Linked DNA regions of Homo sapiens: all the other regions are linked to region 1. The links are contacts of gene promoters, found by promoter capture Hi-C in blood cells and fetal thymus (Javierre and others, 2016). All regions are on one chromosome and are shown on one strand. The core of a region is centred on a gene start or on the middle of the fragment in contact, and the rest is flanking DNA. Distances in the headings are between cores, read along the strand shown.

Region 1 (2,756 bases), core at 70-2,569:
CTGTCCTTCTGCCAGAGCTGGTTATCAGCAAGAGAGATGAGATGTCTCACCCTCTCTCATGTGACTTCTCAGTGGCCCTAATGGAGCTGGGAAGGGTATGAGCTGCAGTGGGGAGGTTCCCAGCTGCCCTTGGCCTTAAGACCAGTTTGAAGGGAAAGGCCACACCAGGGCATCCCATGGAAGCAGTCTACACTCATGTCTATCCCATTCAGAACCATTGAAGTCGGCCCGGCACTGTGTGGGGAGGCAAGACCAAGGAGGGGCTCGTGTCCAGGTTACAGCTGGGTTTGGACTTGGTTTATGCCAATGCTAGACCTGGCTTGGGAGGAGACCTTCCCTCAGGGTGGTGCAGCATGGTGGAGTGAGGAAAATACAGGATCTGATGTTAGAGAGATTTGGGTTGGAATATCAGTTTGCAATATGTCAGGCAGTATGTTTCTTTACTTTTCTGTGCTATAGGATCCCCCTTGCAGAATTAGCACTAGGATTTTTTTTTTGAGATGGAGTTTGCTCTTGTCGCCCAGGCTGGAGTGCCATGGCGTGATCTCGGCTCATTGCAACCTCCATTTCCCGGGTTCAAGCGATTCTCCTGCCTCAGCCTCCCGAGTAGCTGGGATTACAGGTATGCACCACCACGCCCGGCTAATTTTTGTATTTTTAGTACAGACGAGGTTTCCCCATGCTGGCCAGGCTGGTCTCGAACTCCTGACCTCAGGTGATCCCGCCTCAGCCTCCCAAAGTGCTGGGATTACAGACGTGAGCCTCCGCTCCCGGCCTTAGCACAAGGATTAAATGAGATGTTTATATGGCGTTTGGCATAGACACTGTCAAAGAGTAAATGGGCAATAAATTATAACAATGATCATTGGGGGCTGGCTATTGGAGAAGAGCTGGCTCTCTCCAGAGGAATTCGGATTACCTCCTTCTAGGCCCTAACCCCATTTACTGATCCCACAGGCCCCGCCCCGGCTCCGCTAGCCCCGCTTCCTCCTGTCGCTTTGGCCTCCGGCATGACGCATGCGCCCTCGGGCTCCTCCGCGGCAGCATCTCGGTTCTCCTCTCGGGCCCATCTGGAGCCTCGCGTCTTTTCCAGTGTGGGCCCCGCCCCCTGCCGGTAGAACCCCGTCCCCGGCCGGTAGGGCCCCGCCTCCCGAAGCAGTTCCGGTTCGGCTCCGAGCAGCTGCCGGCGCGGCGGTGACGGCGGCCGGGACGATGCCTGCGCGCAGTCGCCACCGCCCCCGCCTCCACTCCGGCTCCCCGCCCCGGGCTCCGCCCCCGCCGCTTGAGGCGCTTCACTCCGGCGAGGCGGGGAGGGCCCCGGACTCCGACGGCGGCTCGGACGCCGACTCGGAGGTGGGTCCGGGGAGCCCGACTCGGACCGCGGAGGTGAGCGGGAGCTGAGGCTGAGGAGAGGGGAGCTTGGGGGGCGCCTGCTGCCAAGGGTGAGTGGGGAGTCTGGGATGGAGCCGGGGGCTGCCGAGGGACCGCGACCTGGAGGGGCCCCGGGGAGACGGTTGAGGGAACCGGGATAGTCAGCTCTGGAATGGAATCTGAAGCAAATGGAGGTTGTCGAACTGAGGGCCTGAAGGCTGAGGGATAAGTGGAGGCCGAGGAACGAGAGGGAGAGAGCGAGAGGGGGAGGCTTGAAGAGCCCAGAGCTTGGGGGCTTTTGAAAGCTGCGCAGTGGGGGAAAAAGATCGAAGGTCCTGCGGGAATGTGGACCCGGAAGAAGAGATGCTCTGGGTTTGGCAGCGGGGATGAGGAGTCAGAGGAGCAAGACCTGGGCCGGTGTTCCCTTCCCAGGGCGAGGGAGGGCGATCGGGGCTGGGACTGGAGCCCTCTCATGGGGTTCTCCTCTTACGGAGCCCTCTTATCCGCCTCCCACCCCGGGTGGGGCTGGTGGTGATGGAGGGCAGGATTTAGGTTTGACTAGAAGGAGGAGGGCTGTTGGATGGGAAATCGTCTGGCCTCAAGGGGTGAGGGAGGCACTGAAAAAGAGAAGTGTGGTCAAGAAAGAAAAGGAGCCCTTGGGGATCTAATTTTGGGCTTTGGCATTTTTACAGGTGCCTTTTAAAACATCAAAGATCACTAGGGCAATGTACTTGGATCGTGGGGCTTTCTCGTTCGTGCACAGTGGATCATTTTAAGAATCTTGGGTGGAAGGGGCGGTGTGAATCACTGATTTGCCTAAAGGACTGGGGGAAGTAGTGGAGAGGAAGTGATGTTTGAAGAAGGTAGTGGAAGACGTGATTCTGAAAATGAAGATATCATTTGGATTTATTGACAGTAATGGTGTCCTTTTTTTCATTGTAATTTTTTCGTAGCTAAGTTTAAATACCAGACATGTTAAGATCCTAAAAATTTACTATATTACCTTTAAGTTTTAAAAACTTGAAACAAGACTTTGGATACTCAGATTTTAAAAATTAAACTTGAAACAAGAATTTGGACACTTGGATTTTACAGATACTCAACATGGACTGGTTCCACTTTCAAAGTTTTAAGTTGACACATGTATTTGCCACATAGTAAATGTATGGTCAATGCAAGTTTCTGGGTGAAGGGGGCACAGTGAACTTGCCACAGTCTAGGCGCAATACCAAATCTTCCTCTCACTGATAACCCCAGGATTGGACTTATCTCTTGAAAATTGGAGAGGTACCTTTGACTGATTGGCAAAACCAATATTGAAATACTATTTTGCAGGTATTGTGTGAATAGTATTTTTAGTAGAGTGATTTGGAAAAATAAGGACA
Region 2 (2,756 bases), core at 89-2,588, 980 kb before region 1:
ATCTCAGTACTTTGGGAGGCTGAGGTGAGGAGTTCAAGACCAGCCTGGCCAACATGGTGAAACCTCGTCTCTACTAAAAATACAAAAATTAGCTGGGTGTGGTGGCTCATGCCTGTAGTCCCAGCTATTTGGAAGCCTGAGGCAGGAGAATCGCTTGAACCTGGGAAGCGGAGATTGCAGTGAGCTGAGATCGTGCCACTGCACTCCAGCCTGGGCAAAGGAGCGAGACGCCATCTCAAAAAAAAAAAAAAAAAAAAAAAAAAAAAAAGTAAAAAATAACAATATAACTACAATAAAAATAAAAAGTCAACATGGTATAACAATTATTTACACAGTGTTTACAGTGTACTATCACAAGTAACTTGGAGATGATTTAAAGTATACAGGAGGATGTGCATAGGTTATATGCAAATACTACACCATTTTATGTAAGGGACTCGAGCATCTGCTGATTTTTGCAACCAGTCCTCCAAGGATACCAAGATGGCAGTACCTCTAGAACTGCAGATTCAGTATCTACACAAGGGGGAGCTGAGTACAGCATAATGTTCTTGTACCACTGTGCTGGGAACTGTATACAAATCAAGACAGAAATCTGAAGTTTAATAACAGTATAAACAATTGGGGTGGCTGGGTGCAGTGGCTCACACCTGTAATCCCAGCACTTTGGGAGGCCAAGGCAGGCAGATCACTGGAGGTCAGGAGTTTGAGACCAGCCTGGCCAACATGGTGAAATCCCCTCTCTAATAAAAAAAAAAAATAACAAAAAACAAAAATTAGCTGGGCGCGGTGGCAGGTGCCTGTAATCCCAGCTACTTGGGAGGCTGAGGCAGGAGAATCGCTTGAACCCAGGAGGTAGAGGTTGCAGTGAGCCAAGATCACACCATTGCACTCCAGCCTGGGTGACAATAGTGAAACTCCGTCTCAAAACAAACAAACAAAACAAAATAACATAAAACAAACAAACAAAAACAATTGGGGCAAATGGCCCTAGTTTAAAATGAATTATGATCCCACTGAAAAATAATGTAAAATATGTTTTATATAAATGAAAACAGTTCCTATGTGATAAGAGCCAAGAAACAGGCCAGGCACGGTGGCTCACGCCTGTAATCCCAGCACTTTGGGAGGCTGAGGTGGGCAGATCACCTGAGGTCTGGAGTTCGAGACCAGTCTGACCAACATGGAATAACCCCGCCTCTACTAAAAACACAAAATTAGCCGGGTGTGGTGGTGCATGCCTGTAATCCCAGCTACTTGGGAGGCCGAGGCAGGAGAATCACTTGAACCCTGGAGGTGGAGGTTGCAGTAAGCCGAGATTTCACCATTGCACTCCAGCCTGAGCAACAAGAGCCAAACTCCGGCTTAAAAAAAAAAAAAAAAAAAAAAAAGGAAAAGAAAAGAGCCGAGAAATAATTTCTCTGTTTTTGAGTTCTGTCATGATGTTACTCAAATAACTTTTGGTATTTTCAAGAAACAAACTACCTATAACTCCGATCCCCAATGCTAAATTTTTTTTTTTTTTGAGATGGAGTTTTACCCTGTTGGCCAGGCTGTAGTGCAGTGGTGTGATCTGTCACTGCAACCTCTGCCTTCCAGGTTCAAGTGATTCTCATGCCTCAGCCTCCTAAGTAGTTGAGATTATATAGGCACACGCTACCACGCCTGGCTAATTTTGTGTTTTTAGTAGAGACAGGGTTTCACCATGTTGACCAGACTGGTCTAGAACTCTTGACCCCAAGTGATCTGCCCACATTGGCCTCCCAAAGTGTTGGGATTACAGGAGTGAACCACTGCACCCGGCCCCTCAATGCTAAACAGTTCCTTAAAAACTCAACGCAGAGAAGACGTACTTGAAGCAGGTAAATTGGGGAATGTCCTCACGAACTACAGGTAGGTCTGTCTCCTTGTTGGCCACAAACTCTACAGACTATGGTAAGATTATGGCAATGGTTCATGGTTTTGCCCAGGTTATGCATGGTCCGTTTTGCTCTGCTTGCAAAGTACTCAGCTTTCAGAAGCAGAGCAAAATGGACCATGCATAACCTGAGCAAAGAACCAGTGCCATAATTTGACCATGCATAACCTTGCAAAGGACCGGTACCACAATTTTTGCCCAGGTTATGTATGGTTTGCTTGTTCTTGGCTATAGATTTTACTCTAGTCTCACTTAGTACCACTCTACACTCATACATTCAAAGTATACGGATTATTTTAGGTGCGTATTTTCACCCGTTCTCACTGGGTCTCCTGGTGAGCTATGGTTAAAGTGAGCAGTGATGACCTCAAGTACTCAACTTTCAGAAAGAAACAGGGAAAGGTGAGTTGTACTTGATATGTATGATGGCAGATTCTGGCTGATGCATCAACATACTTTTGTGAGCTGACACGGTATGATATGAGTCGGAAATTTCCATCTGGAGGAATAAATGACAAAACTCTTTCAGATTCCCAACGCTTGAACCGGATGCAGGGGTGAAAGCTGACATCATCCAGAAGCCTAGGGTTCTGCCAGAAAAACAGAAGACAGTCGTTCATAGACTATAATGAATATGGGAACTGTACTCAGATACCTTGACAAATATGTTCCCTGAAGATAAAGCAGTCATGGAAGAGTTTATGACCACATCTACACAACCTTATAGTTTCATAATGCTTTAAAGTTTGTAAATATTTTATGTACATTATTTTATTTGAATTTCAATAACTATAAAGGAGAAAAGGCAAGTAGTATTATTTCCCTTTAACAGATTAAA
Region 3 (2,756 bases), core at 96-2,595, 960 kb before region 1:
TTTCACTATGTTGGCCAGGTTGGTCTCGAACTCCTGACTTTGTGATCCGCCCGCTTCAGCCTGCCAAAGTGCTGAGATTACAGGCGTGAGCCACCGCGCCTGGCCAAGATTCGTAAATTAAGATAATTCTTCATTAACCTCATTCACTTCACTTCTCCTATAGTGTCAATTGAAAGTGTCCCTCTGTCTTTCCCAAATTAATCCTTTCACTTGTAACTTGATCCCATTCCTTTCCTTCTCTTCTGGGAGACAAGACTTTTTCTTGAATCTTCAAATAGTTGCTTGCTTCCTGCCCCCAAATAGATATCTTGTATTCTTTAAAACAAACCCCAAACTTTCCCCCACCTTGCCACTCTCAATAATCTTGCTTCATGCCCCAAATGATGAAGGATTGGTCTACACTTGCAGTCTTTCCTCAGTTACTATTAAAGCATCTCTCTCAAACAGCTCAATGACTTTCTAATTATAAAATCCAACGACCTATTCTGATTTCAGCTTCCTCCTCTGACCATTGCAGCATTTTATGTCATTGATAACTTTCTCCTAAACAAAAATACTTCTTACCCTTTTATATGAAACTTCATCTGTTTTGGGTCTCACCTTGAAAGTCTTTCGGGCTTAATTCTCATAATTTTTTTTAAAGTCTTTCTACAATCTCCATGTAAACCACTGTTTCAAATTCGATAAAACTCAAACTCCATAAAATACCTCCTCCTGTCACTGGCACCATCTTCTTAATCACACATAAGGCTGTAAGTTTCAGGTTCAAACAAATCTACCAAATACAAACAGCCACATCGCCCGTCACTCTTCCACACTCACTGCCACCTGCTCAGCTTAGAACCCCGTTACCTCTCTCCTGAAGAACTGCAACACCCTTCTCACTGCATTCCTCACCCCAGGCTCTTCCAGGCACCACCCGCTAACAGGACGTCTGCTCAGGTCCGTTTGGGGTTTTGTCCTCCAAAGCAGAAACCTGGGACTGAGATTCCTGCCGTCTGTACTCCAGCTCACTATAGAGGGGGAACCCAGTAAGCTTGACCTCCGGGGCTCAGGCGCCTGAGAACACTGGGCTGCAGGTGGACCGCTCCCTTCTGGCCTTGCTGGCGAGAAAGCCCGGAAGGCCGGGAGTGGGGGGGAAGCGAGGCCCGGGCCAACAGCACCAAAGACGCTCCTAGAGCCCAGATCGGAGTCGGGGGCCCCAGCTATTCAGCCTACTCCCGGGTTTTGGAGCTGTCCCCAGTCCACAGATTTCCCGCCCCTCACACTCACCCCAACACCTGTGCCAGTCAGTGATTCGGCGCCGGATCCTCTCCTACCGAAGCTGGAGAAGCCGAGAAGGCCGCGAGGACCCGCAGCTGGAGTGCCCAGGAAATTGCCTGATTAACAGCTTCAAAGACACCGACTCTGTCTACCGTATTAGAAATTTTAAATATGCAGGAAGACCGTAAATGAGAGGAAAGACGTCTCTTGAGGCTTAGTATCTAAATCTTCTACATAATCCAGGGCCTAGAAAAATGGTGGGTTTCTCTCCATCTAGATTCAGGCGGTCATCTGCTGCCTAACGCAGTCTGGGGTCCCTCATGGTAGGGGAGGCGGGGTCAGGAATGGGCGGGGCATTCGCTGTTGGTGCCGACGGATAGAGCCAATGATTGTGGATGACAGCGGCACAGAATGGGCGGAGTCTGGAGGGGCGGGATTTGGAGAAGAGAAAGCGGTGATGCGAAGAGGGGGCGGGACCAGAGAGTGGATGGCAGAGGTGGGCTGTAGAGCCAAAGTGGGGTGGGAGCGCGAAGATGGCAGCTGCTGAGGAGGAGCCGAAGCCCAAAAAGCTGAAGGTGGAGGCGCCGCAAGCGCTGAGGTGAGCGCTGCCGGACTTGGGGAGGAGGGTGACGGCGCTGCAAGCAAGCCAGGGCCCACGTGGGGTTGCACGGCCCCGACGCTGGGTGGTGTCTCTCACTGCCAGCTTGGGGCCAACACGCAGGACCTCCCCCAGCTGCCCGCTTGGCCGCGACCCCTTGCCAGACGTTCTCTCCGTTTGGCTGAGTCCCCGCCTGTCTGGTGCAGCTCCGGCTCCAGCAGCCCTTCGCCAGTCGTGGCCCGCAGGGGGACCGAGCTGGCTGACCGCGCCACCTGCGAGCAAGCCCAGGCTGGGCTGGTGCGACCCCGGAGGGTCGGACCGGAGCAGCGTCTGTAGGCGGCCGCCTTCTCTTCCCGGGGGATGGCGGGAAAGAGGCTCGGCAACTGCTGTACACTGGGGCAAAGTCAGAATTCTTGGGGATTTTTCAGAGTGTTGCGGAAGGGCACGTTGACCTTCCTTTTCGTGCACATTCTGAAAGCCCGTACCTTTGAGGACCCTCTACCAGGGACCCAGACCCCTCCGATGCTTTGCAGGGGCAGCATTTGGATGAATGGATAGGAAAGGTTGATTTCTCTTTTTTATTTACACTTTTTGGCAGCAACGGGGACAGTGCTGCCCCTAACACCTGCCTCACATGTGATTGATGTTGCAACTTTTACTTATGAAGAGTCATTTGTTAAAATATCCCTTCCTAATAAGTATAAAGTGAAGCAGGCAGTCTTTGATGATTTGGAAATGTTCGCTGAAAGGCAGCGATTTTTTTTTCCATCTTAAAATAGACATATCAAACTGATTTAAAACTATTAGGACACTCCTGATTAAACAGGACATATCCCATTTCTTCCAGTATCACTCTTCTTCACCTCCAAAGGAAGGAATCACTCACAATTGAAAA
Region 4 (2,756 bases), core at 154-2,653, 940 kb before region 1:
TGAACTGGAATTTTTAGTAGATTATATTTTCTTTTTTCTCATGTTTCTTTGAGACAGAGTTGCTCTGTTGCCCAGGCTGGAGTGCAGTGGCCTCCTGGGTACACTTCCACTTCCTGGGTTCAAGTGATTCTCCTGACTCAGCCTCCCAAGTAGCTAGGATTAAGGGCATGCGCCACCACACCCAGTGAATTTTTGTATTTTTAGTAGAGACGGGGTTTCACTGTGTTGGCCTGGCTGGTCTTGAAGTTCCAACCTTAGGTGATCTGCCCGCCTCGGCCTCCCAAATTGCTGGGATTACAGGCGTGAGCCACCATGCCCGGCCAGTAGATTGTATTTTCTAATCAAAACTTTAGACAAACCAATTTTGCTTGTGTTTAATTAAAATGTTCTAGTTAAGAACAATTTATTAGTACTATTTTTTGAGATGGGGTCTTACTTGGTTGCAGAGGCTGTAGTGCAGTTGAACAATCTTAGCTCACTGTAACATTCACCTCCGGGCTCAAGCCATCCTCCCACCGCAGCCTCCCAAGTAGCTGGGACCACAGGCTTGTGCCACCACGCCCAACTAATTTTGGTATTTTTTGTAGAGATGAGGTTTTGCCATGTCACCCAGGCTGGTCTGAAACTCCTGGCCTCAAGTGTTCTGCCCACGTTGGCTACTCAGGAGGCTGAGGTAGGAGAATCGCTTGAACTTGGAAGGTGGAAGTTGCAATAAGCCAAGATTGCGCCACTGCACTCCAGCCTGGGTGACAAAGTGAGACTCCGTCTCAAAAAAAAAAAAAAAGAAAAAAAAAAAAGAAATGGTTAAAATAGGAAAAGTCTCAGTTCCTCTTAGCTATTTCTGATTGCTACATGACTTCCATGAAGCTTTTTAAGCTTTCACTCAGTTCTGAGGTGTTTATATGAGCTTGTGAGGAACTTCTGGTTACAAACTGTAATACCTATTGGCTTTTAGCATGGTGCAAGGAAAAGAGCTTTGGATTAGGGATAAGGACACCTGAGTCCTATTAAGGTCTCTGTCTGGATTTGTGAATGCACCTGTTAAGTGAGTTGTATAGACTAAAATGTTTTCCAGACTACATGAGCCTTTTTGAGTATTGCACAAGTGGTATTTTATAAACGAGAAATAGAATAAAAAATATTGTGCATTGAGTACCTAAGAGGTAAGTATTGCTCTGTGAATCATTGTTTCAGTTATATGTATAGGGTACTGGGTTACAATGTAAAAAATGTATTTTTAATTAAAAAAATATAAATGTAGAAAAATATAATAGAGATGAGGTCTCACTATGTTGCCCAGGCTGGTCTTGAACTCCTAAGCTCAAGTGATCCTCCCGCCTCAGCCTCCCAAAATGTTAGGATTACAGGCGTGAGCCACTGTGTCTGGCCAAAAAATGTATTTTTCACACAGTTTGGTTTTCTATTCCAAAATTTGGTGGCTTAAAATAACTACTTTATTAGATGTCATGATTTTTGGATTAGGAATTCAGACACAGCTTGGCCTGTTGATTCTGTTCTATATGGTGAATAAGATCACTTGGAGGTGTTTAGCTGACAACAGGTCTGGTCTGGAGGGTCCATCTTATCTTTATTCACTCACCTTATGCCTTAGGGTAACTGGAGGCTTGGCTCAACTGGGCTTCTCTTAGTGTAGTTTGAGATCCTCTCTGTGGTTTCTTCAGCTGGGTAGTTGGACTTCTCACGTGGCAGCTCCAAGAGACCAAAGCAGGAGCTGGCAGCCCTCTCAAAGGCTAGCTTAGAATCTGGCATAGCATCACCTTCACTATACACTATTGGTCAGAGGAGTTCCAGGCTAGCCCAGATTTAAGAGAAGGGAACATAGACTTCTTGTCTCTAAGATATTGTTCCCATTTTAAGTCTGCCACAATTATGTAAAATAATTTAGAAAAACATGACTGAATTATATATCCAAGCTTTTAATTCTGTTATTGCCCTTTGAAGGATGATCACTTTTAAAGTGTTTTTTCCTCCATTGGGAAATTTGTCTGCTTTTGGTAAATTTTCATAGTTCAATTTGAGTATGTATATTATTTTTCCATGGAATACTGAGGGTTTTATGCTTTTGAAGAAATGATTTAAAGTTTAAAATTTCTTTCTCTACATTGATCTGCTGGTTTTAATTCTTTGAATAGCACTTATGATCATTTGATGCTGTTCTTTTTTGTTACTTGATTATTCATCTTTCTCTCCTTAGAATGTAAGTTCTAAAAGGGCAGCACATGTTCTTGATCTTTGCCAAATCTGTAGTGTCTCCTGTAGTAGAACAGATGCTCGATAAATATTTGTTGAGTTAATGAATGAACAATTTAAAAGATTGTGAGCTGGGCGCGGTGGCTTACGCCTGTAATCCCAGCACTTTGGGAGGCCGAGGCGGGCAGATCATGAGGTCAGGAGATCGAGACCATCCTGTCTAACACAGTGAAACCCCATCTCTACTAAAAATACTAAAAAATTAGCGGGGCATGGTGGCATGCGCTGTAGTTCCAGCTACTTGGGAGCCTGAGGCAGGAGAATGGCATGAACCCGGGAGGCGGAGCTTGCAGTGAGCCGAGATCGCGCCACTGCACTCCAGCCTGGGCGACAGAGCGAGACTGTCTCAAAAAAAAAAAAAAAGAAAGAAAGAAAAAAAAGATTGTGAAGTATCATAGATCAGATCTACGTTGAAATGATAAAAATAAGGAAAATCTTTTTTTAGACGGAGTCTCTCTGTGTCGCCCAGGCTGTAGTGCAGTGGC
Region 5 (2,756 bases), core at 156-2,655, 910 kb before region 1:
CACTTAAAATACTTTTTTATTAGACTTGCTTTGATCACATATGCAATTTAAGTGTGAATAAGTAAGTGTATTATCTTTCCCTCCTCCACTCAGCTTTCTTTAAATAGAAAAGGGACAAATATCTCTTTATTGCATATTCAGCCATAGTTGCTCAATCTATGGTGTTAATAAGAGACTGTAATTTTATCTTCTAAAAATCATTACAGATTATAATTATAGGCTGTACCTCATTCTCTTAAAGAAATATTGGCATGTTAGTCCATTGATATTACTGATAGTTGCCAAATGGTGAGAATGGTAACTGGTTTGGAGGCAACTGAAAGGGAGGGGGAATCATCAGTAAACTGGAGACCAATAAAAAATTACACAGAAACAAATCTTTTTGGATAAACTAGATGAATGTCTCTTATTGAGACTGATCCAACAGTATTCACTGGCCCATTTCTTGCTGCTAGATGAGCTTCTGTTTAAGGCATCACTTGTGGTGGAGTTCTTTCTTTTATTTGGATTGGAACCATACTGTGATCTCTTATGGAAAACAGACTTCCTCCAAGTCTGTTAAATATAATTTAAAATTATATCGTTTCTTGTTGATTTGTTTGTTTTTGTTTTGCTTTATTTCATGTTATAGGCATCTGAAATGAATCCTTATATATATAACATACAAGTATATGTATGAGAAGACATGAATATAAGAAGTATAGGAAACATAAGACATGAATAAAAGTTTTAGCTAGACATTTTTAGATGAAAAGATGTGCATTTAAATTTGTAAAAGTTACAAATCGTTCTATAAAAAGTTAGCATATATTTAAATTTTTTGGATACATAATAAGAGAATTATATCACTTCTGATATCCATTGTGAAGACCCTACCACAGTCATTTTTTTGTGAAGGGTAGATAGGGCTCTTGCTTGTACTCTTCCAGGATGTGCCACGGGCTCCCTAATAACATTCAGGGGAGTGCATGTGCAGGTTTGTTACATGGGTATATCATATGATACTGAAGTTTGGTTTTGTAATGATCCCCATCGTCTAAGTAGTGAACATAGTAACCAATAGGTAGTTTTTGAGCCCTTGCTTTCCTGTCTCCCTCCCTGATTTTGGAATCTCCAGTGTCTTTTGTCCCGACATCTTTGTGTCTCTGCGTACCCAGTGTTTAGCTTCCACTTATAAGTGAAAACATGTGATATTTGGCTTTCTGTTTCTATGTTAATTCACTTAGGATAATTCAGCTGCATCCATATTGCTGTAAAGGACATGATTTCGTTCTTTTTTTATGGCTGCATAGTATTCCATGGTGTATATGTATTGAATTTTCTTTATCCATTCTACCATTGATGGGCACCTAAGTTGATTCCATGTCTTTGCTATTGTGAAGAGTGCTGTAATAAACATATCCCTTTTTGGTAGAATGATTCATTTTTTTTCATTTTTTTTATTTTTTAGGCAGAGTCTCGCTCTGTCGCCCAGGCTGGAGCGCAGTGGCACGATCTCGACTCACTGCAACCTCCACCTCCTGGGTTCAAGTGATTCTCCTGCATCAGCCTCCTGAGTAGCTGGGACTACAGGTGCTCGCCACTACACCTGGCTAATTTTTGTATTTTTTATACAGATGGGGTTTCACCTTGTTGGTCAGGATGGTCTTGATCTGCTGACCTCATGATCCACCCACCTCGGCCTCCCAAAGTGCTGGGATTACAGGTGTGAACCACCGTGCCCAGCCTAGAATGATTCATTTTTCTTTGGGTATATACCCATAATGAGATTGCTGGGTCGGATGGTAATTATATTTTAAGTTTTTTGAGAGATCTTTAAACTTCTTTTCACAGGGGCTAACCTAATTTGCATTCCCATCAGCAGTTTATAAGTATTACCTTTTCTCTGCAACCTTGACACCATCTGTTTTTTTTTTTTTTTTTTTTTGACTCTTTAGTAATAGTTATTCTGGGCTGGGCACAGTGGCTCACACCTGTAATCCCAGCATTTTGGGAGGCTAAGGCAGGTGGATGTGCTGAGGTCAGGAGTTCGAGACCAGCCTGGCCAACATGGTGAAACCCCATCTCTACTAAAAATACAAAAATTAGCCAGGCATGGTGGCAGGCACCTTTAATCCCAGCTACTCAGGAGGCTGAGGCAGGAGAATCACTTGAACCTGGGAGGTGGAGGTTGCAGTGAGCTGAGATTGCACCATTGCACTCCGGCCTGGGCGACAAGAGCGAAACTCCGTGTCCAAAAAAAAAAAAAAAAAATAGGTATTCTCATTGGTGTGAGATGGTGTCTCATTGTAGTTTTGATTTGCATCTTTCTCTGATAATCATCTTTTTTTCTAAATGTCTTTATGCTACCTCTAAAATGTTCTACGTATAATAGGCAAATCAAATGTTTAATAAACTGGTGTGTTAGGTTTATTTTCAGGTTGAAATGAAGATAGTTATTTTTATTTTGTGTACCTTTTACATATCAACTTACTTTTAGAAGTATTTCTAACTTGTGTTTTGTGTTTTTTTAGAGAAAATATTCTCTTTGGAATGGGAAATCCTCTGCTTGACATCTCTGCTGTAGTGGACAAAGATTTCCTTGATAAGTAAGTATTAAACTCTTCATATGCACTATGTGGAACTTACATTTGAAGAAGAATGGATGAAAACTTTAGAAGTGAATTTACCACCGAATGTCTTCAATTAAAGGAAAACTCAGGAAATTTAAGTTTGGTGATAGCAAGTGTGCTATCATTAACTATTGAATAACTGAG
Region 6 (2,756 bases), core at 107-2,606, 900 kb before region 1:
ATTAGAGAAATTAAGTGGCTTGCCCAGTTCAGAAAACAAGTTAATGTCAGAATCAGGATGATATTGCAGGTTTTTTGATTTGTATCTAGTGATTTTTTTCACTCAGTTGTTCTCTTTGTAGGGGCTAGAGGCAGAATAAAGAGGCCCCTTCCCTGTGCTCCCTCTTGCTTCCCCGTCTTCTATTCTTTGGAGTGTATGTCATTTTTCTCCAGTAATTTAGGGCAGAAAAAAATGTTGAGGACTACCACTGTACCATTTTGTTGTCTCTGATTTTTAGGAACTATGTTCATGGTAAGAATTGATTATAAAAGAATACCTATCTATGCCATTAGAAAACAAAACATCCAAAATATAGGCTGTGCTTTGCATCATTCTATGAAAGCCATGGTGGGAAGTTGGGTTATAGCTTTCTACTAAGTTGAAAGTAGGCTCTGTCGCCTAGGTTGGAGTGCAGTGGCACAATCTTGGCTCACTTACAACCTCCATCTCCCAGGTTCAAGTGATTCTCCTGCCTCAGCCTCCCCAGTAGCTGGGACCACAGGCGCCTGCCACCACGCCTGGCTAATTTTTGTATTTTTAGTAGAGATGGGGTTTTGCTGATGGGGTTTCGCTGTGTTGGCCAGGCTGGTCTCAAACTCCTGACCTCAAGTGATCTGCCTGCCTTGGCCTCCCAAAGTGCTGGGATTATAAGCATGAGCCACTGCGCCCAGCTAATGATTTTTAATAACTTTATATAATACTGATAAATCACTCTTTTTTTTTTTTTTTTTTAAGACAGAGTCTTGCTCTGTCACCCAGGCTAGAGTGCAGTGGCTCGATCTCGGCTCACTGCAAGCTCTGCCTCCTGGGTTCACCCCATTCTCCTGCCTCAGCCTCCCAAGCAGCTGGGACTACAATGCCTGGCTAATTTTTTTGTATTTTTTTTAGTAGAGACGGGGTTTCACCATGTTAACCAGGATGGTCTCGATCTCCTGACCTTGTGATCCGCCCGTCTCGGCCTCCCAAAGTGCTGGGATTACAGGCGTGAGCCACCGCGCCTGGCCTAAATCACTCTTTTTAGTGGACTCTAAATACCACTGTGATTTGATACCCCTTTTATTCATTTATAAAAATACATAAACAGCTTCCTTTTTTGATGTTTAAAAATTTTATAGTCCTTTCTGTCTTGAATTTGCATTTCTGTTATACTTTTCACACCAGATTCTATTCTTATATGATGTATTTTATGCATAAGTTATATTTTGCCTGTAACATGCATACATTATGAAGGTAGTATATTTTTATGCATTACAGTCTTTCATGCATATTGATTACCCTATTATATGTCTTTGCAGCCAGCCAAAATGTGTAAATTTTAAAATATCTCTTAGTCATTAAATTGTAATTAGCACACGGTAAAATAACAAATGTATTAAAATGTTGCTAAATTATTTTTTATTTATTAAAAAAATTTTTTTTCTCCTTCTCTGCCTTCAAAATGTTGCTTCTCTGCCTTCAAAATGTTGGTACATTATTAAACAGAAGAAAATAGGCCAGGTGCAGTGGCTCGCACCTGTAATCCTAGTACTTTGGGAGGACAAGGTGGGCGGATCACTTGAGGTGAGGAGTTGGTGACCAGCCTGGCCAACGTGGTGAAACTTCGTTTCTACTTAAAATACGAAAATTAGCCGGGCGTGGGGGTGCATGCCTGTAGTCCCAGCTATTTTGGGGACTGAGGCACGAGAATTGCTTGAACCCAGCAGGCAGAGGTTGCGGTGAGCCACAATCATGCCACTGTACTTCAGCCTGGGTGACAGAGTGAAACTCTGTCTCAAAAAAAAAAATAAAAAAAAAAAAGTTTCACAGACAAAATATGAATCATTCCTTGTTTAACACTTAAAAGGTTTTTATACTCAGGCAATAGAATAGTGTATAGTTTCATTCACAATAGGTGAGGAGTATGTCATCCTTTTTATATTAATAAAAAGTGAGAGGAGCCCAGATGGCCGAATAGGAACAGCTCCGGTCTACAGCTCCCAGCGTGAGCGATGCAGAAGACGGGTGATTTCTGCATTTCCATCTGAGGTACTGGGTTCATCTCACTAGAGAGTGCCAGACAGTGGGCGCAGGTCAGTGCGTGCAGCGCACCGTGCATGAGCCGAAGCAGGGCGAGGCATTGCCTCACTCGGGAAGCACAAGGGGTCAGGGAGTTCCCTTTCCTAGTCAAAGAAAGGGGTGACAGATGGCACCTGGAAAATCGGGTCATTCCCACCCGAATACTGCACTTTTCCGACGGGCTTAAAAAACGGCACACCAGGAGATTATATCCTGCACCTGGCTCGGAGGGTCCTACGCCCACGGAGTCTTGCTGATTGCTAGCACAGCAGTCTCAGATCAAACTGCAAGGCGGCAGCGAGGCTGGGAGAGGGGCGCCCGCCATTGCCCAGGCTTGCTTAGCTAAACAAAGCAGCCGGGAAGCTCCAACTGGGTGGAGCCCACCACAGCTCAAGGAGGCCTTCCTGCCTCTGTAGGTTGCACCTCTGGGGGCAGGGCACAGACAAACAAAAAGACAGCAGTAACCTCTGCAGACTTATATGTCCCTGTCTGACAGCTTTGAAGAGAGCAGTGGTTCTCCCAGCACGCAGCTGGAGATCTGAGAACGGGCAGACTGCCTCCTCAAGTGGGTCCCTGACCCCTGACCCCTGAGCAGCCTAACTGGGAGGCACCCCCCAGTAGGAGCAGACTGACAACTCACATGGCCGGGTACTCCTCTGAGA
Region 7 (2,756 bases), core at 132-2,631, 850 kb before region 1:
CTAATTACCATGGCTTTAAACTCAGGGGAGTTAGCAATTTATGTGTAAAAGTTTCTGGGCTGTAGTTACCACCCACAAGGGTATTGAGAGAACTGCAGACACTACTTCTGTGTTTTGTTTCAGAAATGTTCTTTTTCCTCACTTGCTTCCTTCTTAATAAATTAGTTTTTATTTATTTTTATAGTGAGAATTATGAGCTTTTCCTCTTGCTTGAATACCTTTTTAAAGGAGTTATGAGAAATATTTAAGTATTTTTTTAGTGTAGTTTAGTGTTGTAAGTAGACAAAATATTATTAGATGTATTCTTTTATTTGCTTACATAAGTTGGCATCACTTACTATAGTAAATGACCACTAATAGTGTAATTTCTTGGAAAATCTAGCCTAAAAGGTCAATATTAATAATTGGTTTTCTCCTCTAAAAGGATTTGTACTAAGATGATTTACTTTCAAAGTACTCAGTATTAGCCTATAGCCTTTTTTCTAATCTTTAATATTGTATCTTTGATCTTAATTTAAAGTTTTGATGAACTTGTTGCTTCTATTTTCTCTCTTATAGTATAAATTATCTGTAATAAGCCACCTTAATTAAAGTTGGTAAATCTACAACTGCTTCAATTATACACTAATCAATTATACACTAATTTAATTCTACTTAGCAGGATACGGTACATCATTAATCAGTTTTAGACTTAATACAACAGATTTAGAAGTAATCAAAATTGAAGCATTTTATTTAGCTGGGAAAAAAATGAAGGGTCATAATCTAGTAATTCACATATCAATTCTGATAAAAATCAAAGATTCTTTGCTAAAAATGAAGGAATGTAGCTGTTATGTTTACTGTTGAGTGCCATGGGCTGAAGCTGTGATTATATAATATCTTTAGATGTTAATAGCATAATAGTTTTGTGCTCTACCTTTTTCTTTAAATTGTTATTCATGTTACTAAATGGGTTGTTTTCTGTAACATGATTGTTTAACGTATACATAATATAAGAATTCCTTGAGTGAATATCTTTTTTGTTGTTGTTGTTTGTTTTTGTGTTTTTTTTTTTTTTTTTTTTTTGAGACGGAGTCTCCCTGTGTCGCCCAGGCTGGAGTGCAGTGGCATGATCTCGGCTCATTGCAACCTCTCCATCCTGGGTTCAAGCGATTCTCGTGCCTTAGCCTCCCAAGTAGCTGGGATTACAGGCATGTGGCCTAGCTAATTTTTGTATTTTTAGTAGAGAAGAGGTTTCGCCATGTTGGCCAGGCTGATTTCGAACTCCTGGCCTCAAGTGATCTGCCTGCCTCAGCCTCCCAAAGTGTTGGGATTACAGGTGTGAGCCACTGTGCCTGGCATATAGAATATTTACTAGTAGTTTGTTTTGAACATGTAAGCATGTGCACAAATGTATTTTTTTCAGAATTATGTTAAATAAGATGATTAGATATAATTAACTCAAAAATCTTTAGCAAAATGATCTTTGTTTTCTGTGATTGAGGTGGTGACAAATTTGCCTTAGAATTCTTGGGGATGTGTTATAAACTCGATGTAATCATTTTTCTTTTCCTTTTTTTTTTTTTTTTTTGAGACGGAGTCTTGCTCTGTCACCCAGGCTGGAGTGCAGTGGCGCGATCTCGGCTCACCGCAAGCTCCACCTCCTGGGTTCATGCCATTCTCCTGCCTCAGCCTCCCAAGTAGCTGGGACTACAGGCACCCGCCACCATGCCTGGCTATTTTTTTTGTATTTTTAGTAGAGACGGGGTTTCACCATGTTAGCCAGGATGGTCTCGATCTCCTGACCTCGTGATCCGTCTGCCTTCGCCTCCCAAAGTGCTAGGATTACAGGCGTGAGCCACCCTGCCCGGCCCATTTTTCTCAATTATCTGCTCATTGAATTAAATGACTCAGATTGAATTTCATTACTCATTCTTTCTATACATGTTCATATTATTGGAAACACTTCTTGTCCTGCTCAGCTTTCTTTCCAATAAATTAGTAATTCTTTGCTCACTCGTCTTGTATTCCTTTATAAGAATGTTCTAGATAGGGATATTCTAAGTTTTGAAGACTATGTATGTTAAGTGCATTTTACCCTTTTGAGAGAGTTTTAGTAACAAGTTTCAGGGAACCCCTAGGACTCTGACCCATTATAGCTTTGGCCATTTAAAAAAAAAAACCTTCAAAGGTAATATGTGTACATGGTTAACAATCAAATAGAACAGATGGTCTGTCTAATAATGAAAAACAAGAAAAATCTTGCCCTATGTTTCTCTGTTCCCACTCCCCCCAAAATCAGCCACTTGTAACTGATTCTGTTTTCAGTGCTTATTGTGGTTGTCTCAACCTGTAGTAGAATTATAGATTCTTTTGTTTGTTTGTTTGTTTTGCTTTTTAAATTAGAGACAAGTTCTTGCCCTCTCACCAGGTTGGAGTACATTGGTGTGATCACAGCTCACTGAAGCCTTGAACTCCTGGGCTCAAGCCATCCTCCTGCCTCAGCTTCCTGTGCAGCTGGGACTACAGGCATGCACCACTCCACCCAGCTAATTTTTTAATTTTTTTGTAGAAACAGGGTTTTGCTGTGTTGTCCCTTGAATGCCTGGCCTCAAGTGATCCTCCTGCCTTGGCCTGTGATTATAGGCGTGAGCCACTGTGCCCAGCCTTAGAAATTATTTCTCAATGCTTTTGCTCTTCTGTGTTCTGTGATTAGGTGACTCTTTATCTCACACCACTTCTACCTTTTCTCCATCCTTCCAAGTTGTGATCAC

What was found. Contacts are between HindIII fragments. The CHiCAGO score rates a contact against its expected background, and 5 or more counts as called.
Region 2: a contact is called between a fragment that was not itself captured here and the fragment with the promoter of SAMD8 in region 1, in 5 of 17 cell types (naive CD8 T cells, total CD8 T cells, endothelial precursors and 2 more). The highest score is 7.6, in naive CD8 T cells.
Region 3: a contact is called between the fragment with the promoter of AP3M1 here and the fragment with the promoter of SAMD8 in region 1, in 9 of 17 cell types (fetal thymus, naive CD4 T cells, total CD8 T cells and 6 more). The highest score is 11.4, in fetal thymus.
Region 4: a fragment that was not itself captured here is called in contact with the fragment with the promoter of SAMD8 in region 1 in 1 of 17 cell types (monocytes); the score reaches 5.4 in monocytes.
Region 5: a contact is called between a fragment that was not itself captured here and the fragment with the promoter of SAMD8 in region 1, in 1 of 17 cell types (fetal thymus). The highest score is 6.6, in fetal thymus.
Region 6: a contact is called between a fragment that was not itself captured here and the fragment with the promoter of SAMD8 in region 1, in 1 of 17 cell types (fetal thymus). The highest score is 5.9, in fetal thymus.
Region 7: a fragment that was not itself captured here is called in contact with the fragment with the promoter of SAMD8 in region 1 in 17 of 17 cell types (total CD4 T cells, naive CD8 T cells, monocytes and 14 more); the score reaches 19.2 in total CD4 T cells.

What each region holds. Positions count from the first base shown.
Region 1 is chr10:75,110,337-75,113,092 of GRCh38, forward strand. It overlaps SAMD8 (sterile alpha motif domain containing 8), which reads left to right and starts at 1,320. Exons shown (of 6, transcript NM_001174156.2): 1 at 1,320-1,386. RefSeq lists enhancers at 130-1,079, 1,080-2,028 and a silencer at 1,067-1,406. The HindIII fragment of the contact is 16,308 bases long and covers 1-2,756 here.
Region 2 is chr10:74,126,734-74,129,489 of GRCh38, forward strand. AP3M1 (adaptor related protein complex 3 subunit mu 1) reads right to left here. Exons shown (of 9, transcript NM_012095.6): 6 at 2,375-2,508. Among named protein-coding and RNA genes, the nearest start is that of AP3M1, 23 kb to the right of the region's middle. The HindIII fragment of the contact is 4,436 bases long and covers 1-2,756 here.
Region 3 is chr10:74,149,483-74,152,238 of GRCh38, forward strand. AP3M1 (adaptor related protein complex 3 subunit mu 1) reads right to left here and starts at 1,346. Exons shown (of 9, transcript NM_012095.6): 1 at 1,273-1,346. ADK (adenosine kinase) reads left to right here and starts at 1,739. Exons shown (of 11, transcript NM_006721.4): 1 at 1,739-1,861. The coding sequence starts at 1,797. RefSeq lists enhancers at 1,270-1,499, 1,910-2,089. The HindIII fragment of the contact is 5,595 bases long and covers 1,035-2,756 here.
Region 4 is chr10:74,165,918-74,168,673 of GRCh38, forward strand. All of the region lies in intron 1 of ADK (adenosine kinase), which reads left to right. Among named protein-coding and RNA genes, the nearest start is that of ADK, 16 kb to the left of the region's middle. RefSeq lists an enhancer at 1,679-1,798. The HindIII fragment of the contact is 1,058 bases long and covers 875-1,932 here.
Region 5 is chr10:74,198,251-74,201,006 of GRCh38, forward strand. ADK (adenosine kinase) reads left to right here. Exons shown (of 11, transcript NM_006721.4): 2 at 2,514-2,588. Among named protein-coding and RNA genes, the nearest start is that of ADK, 48 kb to the left of the region's middle. The HindIII fragment of the contact is 5,555 bases long and covers 1-2,756 here.
Region 6 is chr10:74,214,913-74,217,668 of GRCh38, forward strand. All of the region lies in intron 2 of ADK (adenosine kinase), which reads left to right. Among named protein-coding and RNA genes, the nearest start is that of ADK, 65 kb to the left of the region's middle. The HindIII fragment of the contact is 4,150 bases long and covers 1-2,756 here.
Region 7 is chr10:74,257,902-74,260,657 of GRCh38, forward strand. The region is part of intron 3 of ADK (adenosine kinase); the gene reads left to right. Among named protein-coding and RNA genes, the nearest start is that of ADK, 110 kb to the left of the region's middle. The HindIII fragment of the contact is 6,384 bases long and covers 1-2,756 here.